Regions from separate parts of the Homo sapiens genome. Here region 2 is linked to region 1. Evidence: promoter capture Hi-C in human tissues and cell types (Jung and others, 2019). All regions are on one chromosome and are shown on one strand. Each heading gives the region's core, a stretch centred on a gene start or on the middle of the fragment in contact. The rest is flanking DNA. Distances are from core to core; before and after follow the strand shown. Region 1 holds the start of KIF1B (kinesin family member 1B). Region 2 overlaps CTNNBIP1 (catenin beta interacting protein 1).

Region 1 (4,640 bases), core at 2,141-4,640:
TTACCTCAAGTGATTCACCCACCTGGGCCTCCCAAAGTGCTGGGATTACAGGTGCATTTATTCTTAAATATTGAATAGCTTTTATTGCTTTTTTTCTTTCTTTCTTTTTTTTTTTGAGACAGGATCTCACTCTGTCATTGAGGCTCGAGTGCTGTGGTGCAATCATAGCTCACTGTAGCCTTGACCTTCCAGGCTCAATTGATCTTCCCACTCAGCCTCCCAAGCAGCTGGGACTACAGGTACATACCACCATGTCTGGCTACTTTTTTTTTTTTTTTTGTATTTTTTGTAGAGATAGGGTCTCGTTATGTTGCCTAGGCTTGTCTCAAACTCCTAGGCTCAAGCGATCAGCCTACTCTGCCTCCCAAAGTACTGGGATTACAGGCGTGGGCCACAGCACCTGGCCGGGAAGACTTGATTTTTTAAAAAGATCCCATTAAAAATAGCAATAAAGGCCAGGCTCAGTGGCTCACACCTGTAGTCCCAGCACTTTGGGAGGCTGAGGTTGATGGATCACTGGAGTCCAGGAGCTGGATACCAGCCGTCTCTACAAAAAATAGAAAAATTAGCTGGGCGTGGTGGTGTGTGCCTATAGTGCCACCTACTCAGGAGGCTGAGGTGGGAGGATGGATTAAACCAGGGGGCAAGGGTTGAGGCTGTAGTAAGCTGTGATCACACCACTGCACTCCAGCCTGGGTGACAGAGTGAGACCCTGTCTAAAATAATAGTAATAATAAAGTCTTCCTATCAAAAAGGAACACTTCGGATTTTTGTGTATTGATTTTGTATCCAGAAACCTGATTGTGATTGTGATTGTGATGGGAGAGTGGCAGTGCACCACGTGACTAGGACTTCTGATGTTCTCGTATCCTTGCATTCCAGAGACAGCCCTACCAGATCATGGCTACATTCAATTTTCTAGTAATTTATTTATCATTTTAAAGAGATGCTTTTATACAGAATTTGTAATCTGAGAAACTGGCTGGGCAGTGTGACTTCATCTGTCAGAGAGGCAAAAGGCTTATGCAGAGTGGGCTGTTTGGCCTTGGATCCTGGAGCAGCCTTCTTTGCCTTTATTGACCCTTCTGTGCCTTCTGTGTGCCCTTTGGCTAGCTTCTTCTCCTGCCAATCACAATCACACCCTCTTCACTACGTTTTTGTTTTAAATTTTATTTTATTTTTTGTTGAGACAGAGTCTCACTCTATCTCCCAGGCTGGAGTTCAGTGGTAGGATCTCAGCTCACTGCAACTGCCGCCTCGTCCACCTCCCGGGTTCAAGTGATTCTCCTGCCTCAGGTTCCCAAGTAGCTGGTATTACAGGCGTGCCCACCACGCCTGGCTAATTTTTGTATTTTTTAGTAGAGATGGGGTTTTGCCATGTTGGTCAGGCTGGTCTCGAACTCCTGACCTCAAGTGATCCACCCGCCTCAGCCTCCCAAAGTGTTGGGATTACTGTCGTGAGCCACCGCGCCTGGTTCTTCACTACGTTTTAGATTCTTTTTAGATTGTGCTCCATTGAGAGCTCAAGCAATACAGCCACCCAGGTTTTCGTAACTCTCCATGGCGCTCACCACAGTATTTACGCAAGGAGGTCCACGCTATGATGAAGTGGTGTCTACTGTTGAATTGATGAGTTCCTCTTTATTAACCTACTATAGTTTCATTTTACTCTTAGCCGTCAGGAAGCTAAGAGCTGAGTTCTGTGCTCAGTGGCAACATATTTCCTTGACTATGGATTTTTAAAATATTGTTTTTCTGGCCGGGCGCGGTGGCTCATTCCTGTAATCCCAGCACTTTGAGAGGCTGAGACAGGTGGATCACCTGAGGTCAGGAGTTCAAGACCAACCTGACCAACATAGTGAAACACCGTCTCTACTAAAAATACAAAAATTAGCCGGGCGTGGTGGCAGGCACCTGTAATCCCAGCTACTCGGGAGGCTGAGGCAGGAGAATCGCTTGAACCTGGGAGGCGGAGGTTGCAGAGATTTGACATCGTGCCACTGAGCTCAGCCTGGGCGAGAGTAAAACTCTGTCTCAAAACAAAACAAAAAAATTTTTCTTTCTAGGCATGCCTCTCATTCAAACAGCTTTTAAAAAGTCTCTTGCTTGTTTCATTATTATGAATTTTACGCCTATTTTAAAGCTATACGGTTTCACTGCTGTATGCTTTAGTGTAAGCTATGTCAAATCCTTTTGCAGGTAGGTGGAGCTTAAATTCTATAAAATGAGACGTGATCAATAAAAGCGGATGAAGAGTCTGAGGACTTGAGTGGTGGTGGAGATTTTCCAGAATTATTAGTGTAGAAAATTAATTTCGATGTTTTAGTGCATATGCTTGTACATAATACCTTTTACTCACAATAATACTGTATTTAATTCAGGGGAAGACATGTGATTTTACTTTCAATGTCTGCTAGTAAATAAAAATAATTCACAACCTTATAAAGTAATAGTGCTCGGCCTGGGCCTGATAATTGAATATATTATCACTGAAGATTATATTTTGTTAAGTACTGAATTGAACAGTTTCTGAACAGTGAGATTTTTCTTTCCAGCTGAATCTAAATCTGATTTTAAAGAAATCACTGCTCGTGCTTTTGTGTCCTCCGGGTTTCTAACTTCCACTCTCCCTCCTTCAAGGGCATCTCCCAGAAGGGGGCTGGGCTCGTTAACTCAGGGACGGTGCAAAGCGTTTGTTCCTCTCCTCACAGCCCTTCCGCGGTCTCCCAAGGAGACAAGTGGAATGCCCACCAAGTCATGCTTTTCCATTACTCATTCCGCCTTCTCTCCCGAGGTGGCGCGTGGGAGGTGTTTTGCTCGGGTTCTGTAAGAATAGGCCAGGCAGCTTCCCGCGGGATGCGCTCATCCCCTCTCGGGGTTCCGCTCCCACCGCGCCGCGTTCGGCCGGTTCCGCCTGCGAGATGTTTTCCGACGGACAATGATTCCACTCTCGGCGCCTCCCATGTTGATCCCAGCTCCTCTGCGGGCGTCAGGACCCCTGGGCCCCGCCCCGCTCCACTCAGTCAATCTTTTGTCCCCGTATAAGGCGGATTATCGGGGTGGCTGGGGGCGGCTGATTCCGACGAATGCCCTTGGGGGTCACCCGGGAGGGAACTCCGGGCTCCGGCTTTGGCCAGCCCGCACCCCTGGTTGAGCCGGCCCGAGGGCCACCAGGGGGCGCTCGATGTTCCTGCAGCCCCCCGCAGCAGCCCCACTCCCCGGCTCACCCTACGATTGGCTGGCCGCCCCGAGCTCTGTGCTGTGATTGGTCACAGCCCGTGTCCGTCGCGGGCGCCGGGGCGGATACGAGGTGACGCGCAGAGGCCCAGCTCGGGGCGGTGTCCCGCGCCGGCGACTGCGGGCGGAGTTTCGCGAGGGCCGAAGCGGGGCAGTGTGACGGCAGCGGTCCTGGGAGGCGCCCGCGCGCGTCGGAGCAGCTCCCCGTCCTCCGCAGCCGTCACCGCCGGCCGTCGCCGCGCCCTGGCCTCCCGCACTCGCGCACTCCTGTCCGCCGCCCACCGCCCACCTCCCACCTCGATGCGGTGCCGGGCTGCTGCGTGATGGGGCTGCGGAGCGGCGCCCTGCGGCTCGCGGCGGCCGCTGCTCGCGCTGAGGTGCGTCGGTGCCCGGCCCCCCGCGCCCCCGCGCGCCGCGGCTCCTGTTGACCCGGTCCGCCCGTCGGTCTGCAGCGCGGCTGAGGTAAGGCGGCGGGGCTGGCCGCGGTTGGCGCCGCGGTCGCGGGGTTGGGGAGGGGGCCGCTTCCGCGGGGAGGAGCGGCCGGGCCGGGGTCCGGGCGGGGTCTGAGGGGAGGTAGCGCGGGACGGGCGCCGGGTGCGGGAGCCTCGCCCTCGGGGGAGGGGACCCCTCCCTAGGCCAGCAGCGAGTCCCGGGCCGGCGTCCAGCGGTCGGCTGGGGCCCCCGCAGTGCCCTGCACCGGCCCTCCGTTTCCCCCGCGCTGCCAGGCCCCGGCTGTGCCCAGCGCTCTCCAGACCCGCCGCTGCCTGGCCGTTCCCTGGGCTCCGCGCACGTTGCAGCCCGGGGGGCGGCTGTGCTTCGTTTGAAGCCATCGTTTCTCATTTTCCCTCTCCCCTTTCCTCCTTTGTGGTGGGCATCGGGCTTCGGCTGGGAATGTGGTTATGCCCTTTGCCAGATGGCGATAGGAAAGGTCATCGCTTGGCGCTGGGGGAGCCGAGGGCTCGAGGCCTGGAAAGAGGGGTGCGATAGGAAGGGAGGGGGCTTGTTGGATGCTGGCCAGGTGTGAGGAAGGCTGGTGTGGTCTCGGCATTCAGCCGACTGGGATTACTCGGGCAGCCATATTGGGAGGATGATCTGACAAATCCTTTAGGAGCCAAGTCCAGTTGTTGGAAGGCACCGAGTGACAGCCCTGGCAGCTTTCAGGGTGACTGGCCAGACCAGAAGCCAAGTTGTGGGGGTTGGGAGGCTGCTTGAGCAAGCTAGTCATTGTTCATGCAACACAAAACATTCCCGCCCCTAACGCCAGAATGGAGCTTCCAGATCCCTTTTTTTTTTTTTCCTTGATTGCTAAATGAGCTTCCAAGGTAAACTGCCTTCAAGATTCCATTCTTGTTGGGGTGAAATTCCGTGTTTCTCTATTCATCTTCTGCGTCCAGTGCGGGGGC
Region 2 (4,640 bases), core at 2,105-4,604, 320 kb before region 1:
GAAACCCCGTCTCTACTAAAAAATACCAAAAATTAGCTGGGTGTGAGGCTGAGGCAGGAGAATCGCTTGAGCCCAGGAGGCAGAGACTGCAGTGAGCCGAGATCGCGCCACTGCACTCCAGCCTGGGTGACAGAGCAAGACTGCCTCAAAAAAAAAAAAAATTAAGAAATGGTAATGTAAGGCGATGGGGAGAGGCCCTGCATCTGTCTACACACAGTGCCATCTGCATCGCATCCCAGACCACCCCATGTTAGCCACAGCTAGCCCTCCTCCAGTGGGGGCAGCCATGAAGCCCAAATGCAGGAGGACCCTTTCCTCTCTGGCTACAGGTCTGCTGCCGTGGGAGTGATTCTGGAATTCTCAACAGTTTGCCCTATGCACACTCCGAGATCAGAGTAGCCCGCCTGTCCCCTTCACAGCAGTGCCGTGCACGCTGTTCCAGGTCCAGAGCTCTCTGATGAAGGCCCTTTCGGAAGGTTCTGGGAGCATTTAAATCAAATCCACCTGACCTCATTCAATACAGCCCCGCAATGGCCAGAATGCAATGCTGCACCCAGCTGAGCCGCCTACCTACTGCAGGAAAGGTACTGACACGGCAACCAGGCTGGGAGGGAGGCGCCTGGAACCACTGGGGCATCCTCCTTTCTATGAAGGGGCTCCTGTTCAGAGCAAGCTCTGCAGGCCACCAGCAGGCATGCCACACACACCAAAGTGCTCCAGCACAGGCACAAACCTGCCTGGAGACAGCTTCCCCAGGACCTGCACGCTGGACAGGAAGCAAAAAGAAAGGGCTCCTTCTGTCCCTCCCACGCACTGAGGCAGGCGGTCAGATCCAAGCTTACCCTCATATTCCCTCTACAGCCGTGGCTCTCAATGGGGGCGATTCTGCCCCACGGCAGAAATGTGGCAATATCTAGAGACATTTTTGATTGTCACGACTAGTAGGGTCCTGCTGGGTAGAGGCCAGGATCAGTGCCCACCACCAATAATTATCCAGCCCCACGTCTGGAGAGCTGAGTGAGAAGCCCTACTAGGGGGCCATCTCGGAGCTGCCGATTGCACCAGGCTCCCTCCACATCTCTGGGCCTCTGCATCTGCTATGCTTTCCACCTAGAACTTCCTTCCCTCCCTGATTCCTGAGACCAAGCCTCACAGATGTTCTCTGCTCTACAACACCTTCTCTGGGCTGCCTCGAGGCCTGTGTCTGCACATCCGCCTGCATTTCCTCTTCTCGCATCACCGCCCCAACACTGTACCTGGATATCTGAGAAATGTTCACCACCAGACTGGAAGCTCTTTGAGGACAGACCGGGGGTGGTTTTAAGGCCTTTATAGGCCCCAGGGAACCTTATTCTCAGAGACATACTAAAACAAACCCACATCTCTTATTAAATGTAATCCTCACGTAACTCACAAGAGTAGAGGGAGTGATATATTTTTTTCCCACATGGCCAATATTTTTGTGGACCCTAGAAAAACTTGTAAGGCTCTGTGCTGAAGAATCTGGACAGGTGAGACACCACTGCTAGCCACAACTGGGGCTCCTCGAGTGGTGAAGTGAATGGGAACCATGAAGGAAGTGCCCCCCAGCCTTTGCATGGCCTCACTTCAGATAATCCTAACACACCAAGGAGCTGGAGGAACCTGCATGTTCCTATAACTGGATTGGCATGAGGCATCTGTTTACATCTTCTGGTTTAAAATATTTATCCTTGTGATTCTGGCCCAGATCTCGTTGTCTCTCCAGTCCTGAATTGAGTGAAACCCACCTTTTTACAGAGGCAAGAGTACCTGGCAGGCCTGCTCTGACAGCCTCTTGAAATTCAGCTGAAAACAATGCAAACAGGAAGGCATGTGGAGCCTGAGGAAGTTTCCTTGGCTGCCCCAGAACACTGAAGATCCTGGGCTATGTCTTCAGGCTCTACTGTTCTAACCAAGGGGACGTGCTGGTGGAGGTTTTCTCTCTGCACAGTGGGGGGACAAGGACAGAAGAAAAGAAAGGCATCTTTCGGCTTAATTTTAAAAGAGGTTCTTTTTTCTTCCCAGAGAACAGCTGGAGCCCTGGAACCTGGCCAAGTCAGAGCCTGAGACCTGAAGTCAGGAACCAGCACGCCTACAAAATCCAGCCACGGATCTTCCTTTAATTCAGTCTGACTCATTACCTTCAGCCTCTGGCAGGTTCCAGAGGGGTTACTAATGCAGAATCCAGAGCCTTCTTCTATTTATAAGCCAATGGAAGGGCTGGAATCCTAGCTCTTGCATGGGTACAAGCGCCCCCTCACTCCTGGGTATGAGGCCTCCCAGGCCTGACCGACCTTCCCCATGGGCTGTGCACCTGGCAGGAAGCTTCCTGAGCAAAGGCATCAAAAGATCCTCTGTGTCAACTGGAGGTAGAGGAACGCTTTTTCTCTCCTGGGACACCAGAGAGATCCCCAGCAAGCTGACTAAGTCCCCAAAAGGCAAATTAATTTGCATTTCTGTCAGGAAGGGACCACTTCCAGACCTAGTAATTCCAGGGATGGAGCCTGGCCCAGAGGTTCTGGAGAGCATGGGTCACCTCCAGAGAGTGCGGGTCACCTCCAGAGAGTGCGATCAGACTGGAAATTTTGACCTATGGAAGCTCCATCAATCCCGCTGTCAAAAGCTATGCCAGCTCTTTGCAGGGTCACAGCTTAAAATTTTAATTACATTAGGAAATTTAAAAGTACTTCAAGAAGAAAGGGGGAAAACTGACACAGTGCTATTTTTGGCGGGGGTGGGGGGCACTCACGTTTCTCCACAAGGTACATAAGGTCCCTTCACTCTGAACCACACTGACATGTTCACGCCACCCCATTCCCACAAGGACAAGCCTCATCCTCAGAGGCAGGCCTGGGCATGGCCCGGCCCTCCCATTGCCTGAGGGTCACCCAGATCTTCTCAACAGGCACCTCTCTCTCCAGCTCTTCTCCCCTTGCCCCATTCCCTCCATAGCTTTCCCTCATTAAAGCCTCTATAATTGGTTCAAACAAACAAGCTTCCTGAACTGAGTTTGCTGCATCCCCTCAGAATCCCAGGGCTGGGAAAGCCTCCAGCTTCCTGTGGTGAGGATTAGGTCATTAAATCAATTGGATCGGCTGCAGGACTGTGCCCCCGGAAGCAGCCCCCTCCTCACCACCCGGCTCTGGGGATGGTCATCCTCAGGACCTGGCTGAGAGACCCCAGGTGCAGCCTCCTGGGGAAACGCTTCCCAATCAAACTCTTCGGAAAATAAGTTTTGTTGGGCACAGTGGCAAATGCCTGTAATCCCAGCACTTTGGGAGACTGAGGTAGGAGAATTGCTTGAGGCCTGGACTTCAAAACCAGCCTGGGCAATAAAGTAAGACCCCATCTCTTTAAATTTTTTTTTTTTTTTTTTTTTTTTTTTTTGGAGATGGGGTCTCGCTCTTTCCCTCTGTCGCCCAGGCTGGAGTGCAGTGGCGCAATCTCGTTTCACTGCAACCTCTGCCTTCCAGTCTCAGGTGATTCTCCTGCCTCGGCCTCCCGAGTAGTTGGGACTACAGGTGCGTGCCACCATGTCCAGCTAATTTTATTTTGTATTTTTAGTAGGGACAGGGTTTTGCCATGTTGGCCAGGCTGGTCTCAAAATCCTGACCTCATGTGATCTGCCTACCTCAGCCTCCCAAAGTGCTGGCATTATAGACATGAGCCACCGAGCCTGGCTTCTACAAAAAATCTTTAAAAGATTAGCTGGGTGCAGCCTGGGCGCGGTGGCTCACGCCTCTAATCCCAGCACTTTGGGAAGCTGAGGCGGGCGGATCATGAGGTCAGGAGATCAAGACCATCCTGGCTAACACGGTGAAACCCCGTCTCTACTAAAAATACAAAAAATTAGCCAGGCGTGGTGGTGGGTGCCTGTGGTCCCAGCTACTCGGGAGGCTGAGGCAGGAGAATGGCGTGAACCCGGGAGGCAGAGCTTGGAGTGAGCCGAGATCGCGCCACTGCATTCCAGCCTGGGGGACAGAGCGAGACTCCGTCTAAAAAAAAAAAAAAAAAAAGATTAGCTGGGTGTGCAGTGGCTTGCACCTGTAGGCCCAGTTACTTGGGAGGCTGAGGTGGGAGGATCCCAAGAGCCCAGGAGTCTGAGGTTGCAGTGAGCTATGATCACACCACTGCACCCCAGCCTGGGCAACAGAGCGAGACTGTCTCAAAAAAAAAAAAAGAAAAGAAGTTTTAAGGCCACTGCCTCTTTCCAACAGGCTGTCAGCATAAAGGTATGTGTTAATTTGCATAAAGATATAGGTGTATCTGTTTACTTCGCAAATACACCCATCTGTGCTACAGAGGCCAGGGTTCCTGGCTCCACGCATCACGTGAGCCACACTGCTTGCTTGTTTGGGTGATTGCTTCTGCTCTACTAAGCAGGAGGCGACCTTCCTGATCCTTTCCCCTCCAGCTACCTCGGAACAAAACATAATCCAAGGAAGGAGGAAACCTCCCCCTAAGAGGCTGTTGAGGACTCAGTTTCCTTCCTCTCCAAATGTTTAACAAGCCAATAATCAAAATCAACAATGCTTTAAACAAAGACCCCTTCAGAATCTCCCATGTGTTTATCCCATTAACTTACTGTGGGAAACGGTATCGGGACAAAAACTCCTGAT

What was found. Contacts are between HindIII fragments. The study calls those that stand out against the background at their distance.
Region 2: a contact is called between a fragment that was not itself captured here and the fragment with the promoter of KIF1B in region 1, in 1 of the 25 tissues and cell types used here (dorsolateral prefrontal cortex).

What each region holds. Positions count from the first base shown.
Region 1 is chr1:10,207,180-10,211,819 of GRCh38, forward strand. KIF1B (kinesin family member 1B) reads left to right here and starts at 3,391. Exons shown (of 49, transcript NM_001365951.3): 1 at 3,391-3,699. RefSeq lists silencers at 2,612-2,906, 2,993-3,072, 3,103-3,622 and an enhancer at 4,524-4,640. The HindIII fragment of the contact is 21,697 bases long and covers 1-4,640 here.
Region 2 is chr1:9,888,403-9,893,042 of GRCh38, forward strand. The region is part of intron 1 of CTNNBIP1 (catenin beta interacting protein 1); the gene reads right to left. Among named protein-coding and RNA genes, the nearest start is that of CTNNBIP1, 20 kb to the right of the region's middle. The HindIII fragment of the contact is 3,526 bases long and covers 1,592-4,640 here.